Regions from separate parts of the Homo sapiens genome. Here region 2 is linked to region 1. Evidence: promoter capture Hi-C in human tissues and cell types (Jung and others, 2019). All regions are on one chromosome and are shown on one strand. The core of a region is centred on a gene start or on the middle of the fragment in contact, and the rest is flanking DNA. Distances in the headings are between cores, read along the strand shown. Region 1 holds the start of TMEM178A (transmembrane protein 178A). Region 2 overlaps THUMPD2 (THUMP domain 2 tRNA and snRNA guanosine methyltransferase).

Evidence for each region. The method cuts DNA at HindIII sites, captures the fragments that hold promoters and counts their contacts. A contact is called where the count stands out against the background at its distance.
Region 2: a contact is called between a fragment that was not itself captured here and the fragment with the promoter of TMEM178A in region 1, in 2 of the 25 tissues and cell types used here (hippocampus and neural progenitor cells).

What each region holds. Positions count from the first base shown.
Region 1 is chr2:39,662,976-39,670,251 of GRCh38, reverse strand. It overlaps TMEM178A (transmembrane protein 178A), which reads right to left and starts at 4,335. Exons shown (of 4, transcript NM_152390.3): 1 at 3,878-4,335. The coding sequence starts at 4,277. The HindIII fragment of the contact is 7,843 bases long and covers 1,604-7,276 here.
Region 2 is chr2:39,730,572-39,737,847 of GRCh38, reverse strand. It overlaps THUMPD2 (THUMP domain 2 tRNA and snRNA guanosine methyltransferase), which reads left to right. Exons shown (of 10, transcript NM_025264.5): 10 at 789-1,787. The coding sequence ends at 1,113. It overlaps LOC124905994 (a long non-coding RNA gene), which reads right to left and starts at 853. Exons shown (of 3, transcript XR_007086294.1): 1 at 770-853. It also overlaps a transcript of TMEM178A not described here. The HindIII fragment of the contact is 4,220 bases long and covers 486-4,705 here.

The DNA of each region.
Region 1 (7,276 bases), core at 3,086-5,585:
TAATCCATGACACACTCACTTACCTTACAGATTTTTACACCTAAAGACTTCTTTCAGACCCCGCCCCCCACATTCCCAGTGCCACAGAGGTACCTGAAGCCCTAAGCTTTAAGTCCATTTTGTTCAACTATTCCAGCACTCAAATCGCTGGGTGAAGGCTGATTTCATTTGCATACTTTTCCAAGTCAGTCCTTACTTGGATCAGCAAAGCTTCCTCAGCATCAAAAGTTAGCCAGTGCTGCAAGAATGGCATATAAGGAAGACTAATTTAGAGTCAACTGACCAACTCAAACACAAAAGAACCCCCACATGTTTAGCCAAAATCTTCTAACATTACCTTGCACATAATAAGCTTCTAATGGGCATTTACTGAATTGGACAGTAAGTATGGAAATACAGTATGAATGTAATATCTCTAAAGCATTTGATAAGTTATCATGTTATCCCAGTGAACAAGATAGTGAAATGTGGATTGGTCAATATAGTGCTATTAAGAGAACTTGCTGCTAGAAAAATAACTATGTTTAAACTATGCTGGCAAATATTTTGTTTTATTTGTCAGTCTGGTAGAATAGCAAAGGGTTCTAGTCTTGGTTCTTAATGAGCGTATCAATAACTTTACCTCCATTCTTTCTGAAGGTTCTGGCTAAACGTCAAGCCTAGACCATTCCAGGCTCTGGGCTAGATAGAAGTGAACTTGTATCATAATAAGAGTGTGAAAACAAGAACTTGATGATTCTCCCAAATACTTGTCCCATTGAGATAAATGCTTTTCTAGCTCCAGTGATTTCTCTTAAGTAGACTAATATTATAGAGCCTTGCATATTTCTAAATTAATCTCTTATTGCCCACATTGCATGTTTCTATCCCCTGTACATCTCTCAGAAATATATCTCTCTTGTCTTGCCTCCAGTAATAGGAAATGTAAATAATTCCTATTATGAGAATGTTTTCCATATTATCAACTCTACATTTTCTTCCCTGCACTCCTCATTCAACTCCTAGCTTTGCCCTCTAGGTCCAGAGAAGAAAATGCTGACATCTTTGCCTCTCAGAAGCTCACTAAGCATGCCAGACAGTTCTTGAGCCCTTTTTCCACCCCTCCCCACTCTCCCATCTGAATAAACTTTTCATTTCCTACCATTAAAATTTCTAAACGATGCTAAGACTCATAAACAAGGTAACTCATAGAAGAAAGAATGGAACTTGGGACTCTAGTTGCTCAAATTTTAAAATTAGATACAGTGTTAATTTCTAGTTTTATAAATGGCTCATTTAAGAAATTCATACCACAGCCACTAATGTCAGATGCCAAAACAAAGGTGATAATGTTTGCCTAATATGGGTGCCAAAATCATCTTTGAGCCAGGAAAATGTTGGTGACATTTTCTTTTCTCAAATTATTCATAGACTCAGAATTTTAAAGCTGCTCTTGTCACCCATACATTTCACAGATGATGAAACTGAGATCTAGAAGAATTATGTAACTAGCCCAAGGTTGGTTAGTAGCAACATTACAAGGCATTTCTGGACATCTCCCAAACAACAAATTATGATCCTATAATCTACCAATGCCTGTTCTTTCCTCCAAACTCCTCATTGCTTAATAGCGTTGGCTCATTAACTTTGCAAGAAGCTAAATTTACATTGTTATTAATTATAACAATGACAGATATGTGAACTAGAAATTTCTCTAAAGAATAGTCATCCCTCCTAATAATACCACAGACAAGGAAACCGAAGGCGAAGAAGGTCTTGATACTTGGAGAACACACTGCAATTTAGCAACAGAGCCAGCAATGGGGCCCATATCTTCTGTTCACAACCTAGAACTCTTCAGTGTTCTACACAAAAGATTAGCTAAACACCATCAATATTATAAAGCTGAGATTGTTTTCATCTAAAAATAGGCATTCGTGACTGGGAAAATCTAGTTCTTTTAACGAGTATATGAGTTCCGTCTTACGGAAGTACTGGGCTAGACAACCATTTGTCAGAAAGATTGTAGAAGGGAATTTGAACAACCAGTAGATGTTCAACTTCAATGACCTCTAAAGTCCTTCCACCTCTATTATTTGACCCTGGACTGCCCTGGAACTGGCACCTCAGTTAGCCAGGGCATTTGCAGAGGCATTGTGCAATATCCTGTGGGGGTCCCCTCTTCTACTGTAGGTTTGACTCTGCCCTGCTGTTTCAGGCATTGCTCTATATCCAATTTACATGCAATCAAATACTCTAAGCATAGAAAGTGTAAGGAAATGCAGTTCTGTCATTTCCAAAGACAGACTACACTGCTTAGCTTTCAAAATTGCCTTGCCTAAATGAGCACTCCATAACTGAGCCTCCACATTCAGCTTTTACAGTTTGTTCATGTACTATGCTACTATCAGAATTAATTATGCAGCATCTTCATGAGGAGAAATCAGATTTGGATGCAAGTTAGGAGAGAAAAGAAAATGGTGCACTTCCCAAAAGATTTTACTGTATCTGGTTCCCCTAAAAGTGCTGGAGTCCTTCCACACGCAGACAGATTTTGGATGGCAGTCCCCAGCTGAGTTAGCCATGGGAAGGAGGAAGTTGACATGTTTGAGAAATGAAGAATCCGCCAACTAGCAAGACTCTGAAGGCCAACACATTATTAACCCCCTCTTTTCTATGTCATTCCATTCCAGGCTGTAACTCAACACAAATCCGTCTGTTTGTTTTCCTACATGGCTACTAAATATTAAAATGTACTGATTTTGGACTTTTTCTTTTTTGGCATCATGAGTCCAAGAGAAGAGATGTTGATTTTTTTTTTTAATCTCAAAGGGGAAAAAAATACATTGAGTCAAGTTCTGAAAGTTAAAGGAAGCTTCACAAGTTGTCACACTGAATATTTTTACGTGAATGGGATTACCAAAAAAAAAAAAAAAATCAAACTATCTGATAGCATTCACAGAAGACAGGTGTTGCACAGATTTCAGAAGAACAAATTGATGCTCTGCAACTCAGTGCCAAACAAAACAAACAACAAAAACAACCTGACAAGGTACCACGAACAGAAGACAGAGTGATAAGCAGAGAGTGAGTGCCCAAATCTGGAAAGCTCTAGTTTAAAGGGCGAGGACATTTTCTCTCCTCAGTGCCTGGACAGCGAGGAGGGTGGGGGTATGGGGTCCTCAGGAAGGTTGGAAAGCAGGTGTCCTATCTGCCTCGGGCAGCCTCCACCAGCCTCCACCAGCCAACGATTGGTCTCTGAAGTCTAATCCACACACACCCTGCACTTCAGGGGTATGAAGGAAGGTTCCGGGGCCTCCTTCGCTGCCCATCAGCCCTGCCAGGCTGGGATGACCACATCAGTTCCGTCTGACACCAGCATCCGCACAATACAGGCAAAGCCCCTTCCCTCTCTTCGGAGGTCGGCACCACTTTTCTTCCAAACGGTATTTCCAAAAGGAGCACAACTTGAAGGAAGGAGCCCGGGTGAGAAAAGTCGAGTCTTTGACGGTTAGTCCCCCTCACGGGGAGCAGCGTCAAGAAAAGACACACATGTCAGGCAGGTGTACAAAGGCAGAGAAGGACGGGGAGAGAGAGAGAACCGGGGAATGGGAGGCGAAGGCAGGAAAGAAGGAGACAGAGGCGGGAGGTGCGGCACGGACTTGAAAGGACGCGCAGGATGTGGACGAAAGAAGAGAGTCAAGGAGAGGGAGAAGAAGGGAGGCAGTGGGGAAAGAAAGGGAAGAGATAAAGACTGGAGGCGGCGGGAAGGATGCAAGAATGCCCAGGCGCGGGGCCGCGGCTGGGAGGGGGCTGCGGGGACCGGCGCGCCCCTGGGAAGCCGCGGGCTGCGCTCCACGCGCGGGCGCCGGGGACGCGGGGTGCGCCCGCCGCTCACCTTTCAGGATGAGGGTGTCGATGTCCCGGTCGATGCCCAGGAAGTAGCACTTCCTCCAGAGGCCCGAGTAGGTGGCGAAGAGGGGCCGGCCGCACTCGGCGTCCAGCCCGCCGAGCCCCAGGAGCGAGCGCCAGGACTCGGGGTCGGCGCGCCCCGGGCCGCCCGGGAGCAGCCGGCGCCCCAGCGGGGGCGAGTCCCGCAGCGGCAGGTGCGACAGCGGCATCAGGCGGTTCTTCTGGTCCGGGGGGTCGGCGCCCGCGCGGCTGCGCTCGCAGCTCTCCTTGTGGCGCCGGGGGTCGGTCTCGTACCAGTGGTCGGTGAAGATGGCCGTGACGAGCAGCCCCAGGGAGCACAGGCTGAGGCCGAGGCTGAGCGCCGTGACGAGCGCCCGCGGCTCCATGGCTTCCCGCCCCGCCGCAGCCGCCGGTGGGCTCGCGCGCCGCCGCCAGACACAATGCACTTGGCCCCAGCTCTCCGCCCGCTCCCTCCCTCTTCCCCCCACCTGCCCCCCACCTCCCTCCTACGGCCTCCTCGCCCTGCGAGCCCGGCCCGGCTCGCTCCCTCTCCCCTGGCCTGATCTCGCCTCCCACCGCCCGCCCGCCCCCGGCCCGGCCCCCGGGCTCCTAGCCCTCCCCCGCGCCGCTCTCGCTTTCTTGCCCCCCTCCTCTTCCCCAGCCCCCTCTCCTCGCCCCGGCGCCCCCCACCCCGCGCACTCCTCTCGCCCCTCTCCCTACCTCCGATCCACAGTCCGCCCTCCTCTCCAGCGACCCCCCTTCCCCTTTTAATCTCTCCTCGCCGCCCTCATCCTCCTCTCTCCCCTTAACCCTGTCCCTACTTTCCCCCGACTTTTCTCCAACTCTTCCTCTCACACTTTCCCCCACTCATTTGCTCCTCTGCTCCCCGGCTCCTGGTGCATTTATATCCCGGCTCTGGACTCGGTGCCTCTCTCCACCTACCCCTCGGCACACCCCTCCCGTCCTCTTCCCTCCAACGACCTTAAAAGACATCCACCGACATAAGACTCACTCTTGTCACTTGTCCAAGTTGATTTTGATCAGTGTCCCGTTTTGTACCCAGGAGCAAATCCCATCCAGGTCGGGCTGCGTGGTAGCGTTTAACTCCTTGGAATCTTGATCTGGAGTCCGAAGGTCCCTTTGTCCTGCCGCCTGCCGCCTGCAGGATGAAGCCTCTGAGACCCCTAGGCAGCCAGCTCTATCTGTCGCGGCTCTTTCCCTCTCACTTGCCCATCGCTTAGCCTCTAAGCATTCTCTCTGCTCAAGCCCCTCTTCTGAAAGAAAAAGACACCGAGTGTCAGTGGAGCGATAGAACGATGACCAGAGATTTTTCTCCCACTTCATTTCAACCTGCTATGAGATGGACTTCTTTTTTCGTTGACTACGTCCATCTCCCGCCAGACTGACTGGCCTCCTGGAATTTCTAGAAGAGCCTGGAATCAATGAACCCTGGCAGTGGCACCTGCTCCATGAGGTGATTATTGCCTTTGCATACAGCAAGCCCCCAGTAATAAATCAAAGTAATGATTTTCTCCTGTGCAGGTTTCCTTCTTGGGCTGGGGGGTGGGGGTCAACAGCAAAGCAATGCTACACACCAAAGTCAACACCTGAGCCTGGGGCAGTTCTTCCATCTTCCAGTCACAGAGGTTACTTCCAAGAATGGCAGGCAGATTCACATTTTCTAAAATGAGGAAACGCTAGGACCCGGGGTGCTAAGAGTTAATCACTTGTGCGGTATAGTCAGTCTATACCACAGAGGTGCAATACACTCGTGCCACTCAATGCCCTTGTGGTCATGTCAGAGACAGAAAACCATGCTGCACTGGCCCAGGGATGAAAATGCTTGTGTTCTTATGCTATGAAATATTAATGATGAAGAAATTATGAGGCATTCATTACATGCTAAATGTCATTACTCCATGATTTAATGGGACTTATTAATTAGTGCCCTACATCAATTGGTATTAATATGCTTTATATCCTTCCTCTAGGATGACATCTGTAAAGGTGGTATAAGGCTCTTGCTGGGATTTATTTTCATTGCTGTTTGTGTTTAGCATCTTCAGAGGGTACATTTCCAGTGAAGATCGTGTGCCTATTCTGAGCGGTTCAGTTCATAGATAGATCACTTAAGCAAATCTTTCAGTTATATCAGACCCGCATTCCCATTTCTGCTGACCTGACAGTGTGAATTATTGCTTGGATTTTCTCACAGTTTCAGCAAGGTCTATGGTGAGCTCTAGTCTAATTAAGGAAGACAAAGAATTATAATTTTAGTGTTCCTCTCACCTATAAGCTTTTCCTTCACAGCAAACACTGAGCTCATCAAAGGAGTCTTAGCTGGATTTACACAAAAATGATAAGACTTAGAAGCTTTCTTTAATTTATACTCTACAATATGTATAAAATCCTAGATCTTAATAGATGCACAGAGAGAATACCTTTAACTGTGAGTCCACAGTTGACATCTGAAATTCACTCAAGTCATCATGTGTTCTTTTATTTTTAGAAATGCATCTTGAGATAAAGTTATCAAAACCTTGGAAGCCCCAAGGGTTGTCAAGCCTTTAGCAAGTCCTCATCCCCTTTTCAAGTCTTCACCTCATGTATTACAAGAAATAAATATTCAGCCACATTCCAGAGTCACCTAATCATCTTCACACAATAACCCTGTCTTCAGCTGGAGCTAGACAGAAGAAAGCCTCTTTTTAAGGCACTTCTGTTTAAATTAAAAGAACTTACCATTCTGTCTCATTTTCCTAGCTAGAACTCTTTGATCATACTCTTTTTAGAAAATAGCATTATTCTTCAAGTTCATTTATGTCTATGTTTAAGACCATTCTCAGCATATAATCCAAAGGTTACTATATGATGGATTGCCCTTGACAGTATTTCATAAAAAATGTCACACATTACAAATATGGGCCAGCAGTATGTAATGAGAGCGCTGCCTCTGCTGGTGCAGCATTAATGGCGCCAGCAGGGATGTGGCATATGATGTGTACACAGGCTTTGTTACAGCAACTGCACATTGCTCCATCTATGTTTTTAAAATTCCCCTTTTGGATACTTCCAACAATGAACTATCACCCAGTAGCCCCCTACTCTGTTAGGGGAGTGAAAAATATGAAGATGAGTAAGTGGTGCCCATCTTCAAGATACTCCCAGCCTAGTGGCGAGAAACAGATGTATTGACAGAATGAGAGGCAAATGCTGTAGTAAAAAAATAAAAGAGAACAAAGGGTCATGGGAACATGGACAATGAAGAGACTAACTGCCGTGGGGAGTCAGGTGGGCTACATAGAGACAGTAACTGTTGAGTTAGTTCTTAAAGGATGAGTTAAACTTTGCCAAGAGGATATCAGAAATATTTGTATTGCAGTCA
Region 2 (7,276 bases), core at 1,346-3,845, 69 kb before region 1:
CCGTCTTTGCTGCTTTTTCTGCTTCCAGCACCCTCCCTTGCTGCAGCCGCTTGCCGTCGCTTTGCCTGGCTCATTCCCACTTGTCTTTTAACTCATAGCACAGGTATCTTCCTCTGGGAAATTCTCTCCTCTGTCCCATGCTCGGGTTTGGGACCCACCTCATGTTCCCAAGCCCCTCATGCTTGCCTTGATTATAGCATTTTCACACCCTTTACTCGCCTCTCTCTCCCAAAGAGATGTTCAGTGATCTCTTGGCAACTTACAGGGCTATGTCACGGGACACAGGCAAGTGTTTTCATGACTTTTTCCACATAAGTGCTACATAGACTTTGATAATTGAGTAAATGCATTCTCCTCAAGAAGCTGACATTTCAAGATCTGCCCTTCTTTTTCTGATTTTTCCTTCGCCATTTCTTTGTTCGTGTCCTAACTCTTTCCTGTTAACTTTCTTCTGCTGTCAGGCTACTGCTTTTAATACATGCAGTCTTTAGGATTCTGTCATTTGCCTTTTCCTTTATACAATCATTTATTAGACCGTGACTACAAATTACTTTGAGGCTTGCCTTTTGAGTAAAAATAGATAATTAAAGCAGATTTGTACTAGGGATTTCATAATTACTATAATGAATATACATTATAGAAGATACTACCTAATTATCAAAAATCCTTATATTTAAATGGATAAAATTAAATTTCAAATTAAAAACATGAACCATTTTAAATGAAGTGGGATTGTTTGTTGTCTAGAAAGGAGAAAGATAGCAATTACCATTTTTTTTTTGTCACAGAGTGCTTCATGTTGGCGGAACCATTGTATTGTTGCTTAGTGAAGATCACCACAGGCGCCTTACAGATTGTAAAGAGAGCAACATCCCTTTCAATTCCAAGGACAGTCACACAGATGAACCTGGAATTAAAAAGTGCTTGAATCCTGAAGAAAAAACTGGTGCATTCAAGACAGCGTCAACTTCATTCGAAGCCAGTAACCACAAATTCTTAGACAGAATGTCACCATTTGGCTCCTTGGTACCAGTGGAATGCTACAAAGTTAGCCTTGGAAAGACAGATGCGTTCATATGTAAATATAAGAAGTCGCACTCTTCTGGACTGTAGCAGGCTTGCTGCCATCAGCCGGGTTCAGGCCCTTGTAAGTTAGCTGTACAGCAGAAGTTTGCTGTCTCTAGGATTCATATAGCACCCACAGAGCTCCAAGTAACCAAATTCCCCCAAAGACAGGAGGTGTGGCTGATGGGTACACATGCTTGGTAAGAGTTTCTGCTTTATATTCTAAAGTACTTAATGTTTTTGAGAAAAAAGTTATCGAATATTTTTTAGACTTAAGTTTTATCTTCTGTCAGAATGTGAAAAGTTCTGCCCAGTTTCTGAGCAAAAACTTCAATTTCAAAATAAAGGTTTTCAGGGGTTCACTTAAGTGTATCACAATCAACACCAGACGGGATATTTTAACTATCAGATTTTCGGAAATGTAAAAACCTTTATGTGTAACTTCTTTTGATATTAAACTTGATTTTTGAGCCTGTAATTTTCTTCTCCATTGGAATGAAAATAATTTGTATTTGCAATACATTTTATATGTTTATTATGTAAACCAACAGTGAGAATAATAACTGAATTAAGCCAGTATCCTTCAAAACATGATGGAAAATGAAATTTGCTTTTTTTCTAAAAGCATTCATACACTGTCACCTCGCCCTTATTTATATAGAAAGTCAGTTTGTTGCTTATGTTCACTACCTGAGAAAAAGAAACAGTAAGTTTGAGGAGAATATATGCTCTGGTTTAATGTTTTTCAATAGTGTGATACAATTGTTCAACTTATTGGCAGCTTTAGTGGTATTTGAACAACTTTGCTATGTTTGGGTAATTTTCCACCCTGTGAATCAGCTCCCCAAAGCAGAAGTCATAAAATCTGTTTTCCAGCCAGGGTGTGGAAACCTGGGCCCCTGGTATCAGGTCCACCCATGTGCAAGCTATGGCATTTGTGCCCAGTGGCAACACAAAGCGATCTTCACCAGAACATTCCTCTCCTGAGGTTTCAGCACTGCTCTTGGCTACGTAGCCACCGCTAAGCTTCTCTCTCTGGCCTTCCTAGGAAATTCTAAGAGCCACCTACTAATCTTGAATACATTTCATTTTTGCTAAAACTAAGTAAATGTGGTTGTGTTGTTAACAGCTGGGACTCTGATAATGGAGACTGATACTCTGAGGGGTTTCAAGCAAGAGGCCCCCAGTAATGTGAATTCGTTACTCGGTATCTGGCCTACTTGGGTTAAAGGCAGTGAGAATACAGCTAGTGTTATAGAAAGTGTATGGCATGTGATGGTGAAGCAGTTCATAATGCCTGTGCTTACCTGATGCTCTGGGAAACACCAAAAACCTGAGGAATACGAGCCCTATGAGGCGGGCTATCTGCTTTTGGTAGAACTTGACAACTCAAAGAAAAAGCAAGATTTCTGTAGTCCTTATTCCTTGGGTTAAAGCAGGGGTCTCAGCCAGCGGCAATTTTTGGTCCTCAGAAGACATATGGCAATGTCTGCAGACATTTTTGATTACCACAACTTGAAGGAGGAGAGAGATACTCCTGGCATATAGTGGATACTGCGGATAAAGGATGAGAGATTAGGTTAACAAGGTAATGGGTGGCAGGTAGAGGTGGTATATTAGATGAGATGGGGCCTTGAAGACTATTTTAAGGGCTTTAGCTTTTACTCAAAACCACTGAAAGAGTTTTGAATAGGTGATGTCACCTAACATATGTTTTAGGATACTGTAGCTGCTATATTGCAAATTGATTGTAGGAAGAGAAGGGTGAAAGTAAAGAGATCAGCTGGGAGTTTTTTGCAATGATTCAGGCAAAAGAAAATGGTAGCTTGCCCCAGGGTGGTAACAGTCGTGTTGGTAGGAGGCACATGGATTCTGGATGTATTTCGAAAGTAGAACCAGAAGGATGTACTGATGTGTTAGATGTGAGGTATGATAAATGGAGAGGAGACAGGAATGACTGAAGACTTTTAGCCAAGAACTTGGAACAGTAGAGTTTTCATCAACTAAGAGAGGAAAGGCTGCAGAGGCTGCAGGTTTGGTGAGAAATATCAGAAATTCTGTTTTGGACTTGCTAGTCTAGACACTCTAATTTAGACTAGTCTAGACAGTCTAAACTAGCAGATCTTGTTTAGACTTGCTTGCTAGACAGTTTTAGACTTGCTAATTTTGAAATATGCATTAAACAAAGTGGAGATGTTGATTAGGCAATTGAATATGTGAGTCTGCACTTTAAGAAAAAGGTCTGCTCTGGAGATACATTATGGGAATTTTCAGTATTTAGGTGGCATGAAACTGGATGGGATCACCAAAGGATTGGGAATAGGAGAATAAGACCAGGGCTGAGCCCTGAATTCCTCCCATACTGAGAGGTTGGCAGGAGAAGAGGAAACTCCAAAGAAAACTGAGATGGAACAACCAGTGAAATAGAAAGAAAACCTAGTGTGGTTGCCTGGAAGACATGAATAAAGGGTATAGAGGAGGAGTATTTAACCCTATAAATGCTGCTAACTGACCAAGTAAGATAACTGGAAATTGACCATTGGCTTTAGCAGTGAGGGAGTCATTCATGACCTTGACCATGGGGCTTTTGGTGGAATGGAAGGGGAGCAAAACCAGACTGCAGTGAGCTTAAGAAAAAATAGGAAAAGAGCTGGAGATAGTGAGCATAGACAGTTCTTACAACTAGTTTTGCAGAACAGGTGAGCAAAGAAATAGGAGTAGTAGATTGGTAAAGAGTGTGAAAGCAAGAGAAAGATTTGTTGGGAGAAGTAGCAGCTTTTTTTTTATGTTAAAGAGAATTCCAGGAAAGACGAAAAGATGATGAAATAGGAAAAAAGGGCTAAGTGCTAGAGCGACGTCCTTGAATAAGGGGATAAAATGCAGTCCACAATTGGAGGAATTAGCTTTAGACAGGAGCATGATAATTTGTTCACGATTACGGGTAGGAAGACAGCATACAGACATTTCAGCTATAGTATGATAAATATGCTCCTAAAAATTTTTTCATTCTCAAATTTATGCACTAAAAATAACAATTTATGAAAAAGAAACATAAATTCTGGTTGGGGAAAACCATTGCAAACATCCAATTTTGCAACCTGAACACTAACAGAAACACCAATCTTAGTGAAAATATTGGCACAGTTAAGACATTATATTCCTAATAAATATGTAAGTAAATAAGGACTTCACCTTTCCAAGAAAAGGGCAATGTCACCTTGATAGACTAGGCATAAAGAAGGGTAAGGAGATGCTGAGTTACACAACAGGCACTGTCTGCCTGGCCAAGGCAGAACCTGCGGCCAAGATGAACCAGAAAAAGCCTGTGATGATGGACGTCATATAAAGAGCCTTATTCCGCACCTTGTTCGTTCAACTCATTCCATTGGCATCCTTCACGTTCAGCTGCTCCTGTCTGGTGACACAAAGCATTAATATGCTAAAAAGAAAAAATCATGTATGAACCAACCCAATTTCCACATGAGAGTGACGTCATCTCCTTACTTAGCAATATTCGATTTAATGCCTATTACAGAAATACGTGTTGTAAGAGAACAGATTATAAGTGGGAGCAGATGCTGGAAGGTGGGCGGATGTGGTGGTGGTAGACTGTGGAAATTCTCTTTCAACTACTTCAACTTTCTCAGTGACAAACCATCCGGTAACTTACCCAGTGTCTGAGTCTATAGCTGGAATAGCTACCCTCAGCAATTGCAGAATACCCATAATGGCTTTCTGATCCATGGAGTAAGGGTATAGATTTTTGGAAGGGCTGATGTCACACTCCTTAGGTTCCCCTTCTTACCGAAATAAACAAAGGCAATACCATATATTTGTAGGAGCTGCAGATGTTAGTGCCAACACTAAGAAAGGCACGGATGTTGATGGAACTCTGTGGCATCTGAAGGCAGCCTACATGAGCTTTGGATTTGCTGCTCTGACTCATTTACTGTTAATTGAGGCCTGGGCTAAGAGATGGCTCTCTACTTGCACCAGCCCTACTGTAAGCAGCTCCCTAATGCCCTTAGAGACCCAGGAGATCTGATGGTGCTCAGAGCAACTGGGGCAGACCTGGAGGGTGTGTGAAGCCTGCAGCAAATCCCAGTAGAGGAAGCACAGCTGCAGCATCTTAGCTTTTGGAGCAAAGCCAAGCTCTCCTATGCAAGTTAATTATTCTCCTTTTGGAAATAACTCTTGACTTGCTATTGGGGCTTGCTTCTGAGGGCTTGACCATGGGACACTAGGTGACCATATGACCTAAGCTGCCCATCTTGAAGTAATGACACGCCAAGCCAAAAGTCGCATGGACCCAACCCAGCAGCACATCCTCATCAGATGGGAGCGGTATATATCAGCATTGAGTTCCACATGGCTGACGGCACTCATGAGCTGCAGGGGCAGTCAGTGCTTTTTCCTCTCAGTGTGCTTCCTGCCACACTCACCCCTCCCTCATAGCCATGGTCTCATGAGGAGTCTCCAGTGAGCAGTTCACCAAGGAGAAAAGAAGTCAAATATGGCTTACAGATGACTCTGCAAGTTTTGCTGGCACCTGTGGGAATTTAATTGCAGCCCCACTCAGGGTGAAAGACAGGAAAGAAAGTGGGGAAGTTCTCCTCCCAGGGAGCAGAACTTGGAGTAGTCCACATTATACACTTTTCCTGGAAGGAGAGATGGCCTGAGAGGCAGATCCTCAACATGTCATCCTCATGAGTATCAGTTTAGATGGATGGTCAGGAACATGAAATAAGGTCTCGGGAAGAGGAATGTGGATGGACATGTTATACTAGACCCCAATATAGGTGAATATTTTTGTCCTATTGGAATGGTCTCAAGAGGCCATACTGTGTAGGAGGTTCTAAATATGTAGTTGGAAGATTGCCTGCCCAGTGCCCTACCCTTTCCCCAGCCATCCTGGTGCTTGCTCAGTGGCCCCATAGACAATGGTTGCAGAGACAGACAGAAACAATGCACTGGCCCAACAAGGACTTCTCGCCAAGATGTGGCCACTGCCACTGCTGACTAATTTCCAGCAGCAGTGACCAACCCTGAGAGACTTAATATAACACTACTGCTGTAGCTTGAGTTTGTCCTCCTGGAAGCTCACATTGAAATTTGATTCCCAACGTGATGGTTTGGGGAAGTTGGACCTAGTAGGGGTATTTGGGTCATGTCGGTAGATATCCCTCATGAATGAATCAATGCCCTCTTGAGGGAGCTAGTTCATTCTCACTCTCCCAGGACTAAATTAGTTACCAGTGATTGGCTGTTGTAAAAGAAGTTCTGCTTCCTAGACATTCTCTTGCTCTCTTTGTACCTACCCACTCACTTTTCTGCTTCTCTGCCATATTTTGAGCCAGCCCATGGCCCTCACCAGAAACTGACCAGATGTGGCACTATGCTTTTGAACTTCTCAGCCCGCAGAATCATGGGCTCAATAAACAACTTTTCTTTATCAACTACCCAGTCTCAAGTATTCTATTATAGCAACACTAAATGGACTAAAACAACTACAAACAGGAGGGGAATTATATTGAAGACCCTCCCCCTTGTGAAGAGGGCAATAATTTGTCCTCACTGGAATAACTATTTACTCTGTATTTGGATTCTTTATGCCAACAACACCTTCCATGAACTTAACAAATTGCCTTATTCACTATCATTCATTTCCATGTAACAGTGCTTCTCACTAAAGAGCTTATTTTACAGGGATGACAGTGAGACAAGAGACTGAGGCTCATGGGATTTCTTGTCTCACCATAAGGCCTTACGGCATGATGGAATGGCTTACTGAACACCCAGTTATTGTGCCAGCAGGAAGATAACTCCTTGAGAAGATGAGATGTCTCCATACAGGATACTCTGTGTGCTATGAACCAACAGCCAATAGATGGTGCTATTTCTCCCATAGTCAGAATAAAGAGCCCAAGAGCTGAAAGTGAGAGTGGTACCTGTTACTATATCACTCCTAATTACGCTATTAAAATGTTTGCATCTTATCACTAGAGTGTCTGGGCTCCCTGGCTTAGAGGTCTCAATGCCTCTTGTTCCAGATGGAAACCTTCAGTGCTGTCTGCTATTGCATAAAAAGTCAAGACATATTCCATACCATCCATTGGTCTCTCCATCTCATGGAAAGATCAGTTACGTTAGAACGAACGACCACACCACCACCACCAATACTGCCACCAGCCTGTGGGTCTCCTTTCTTACA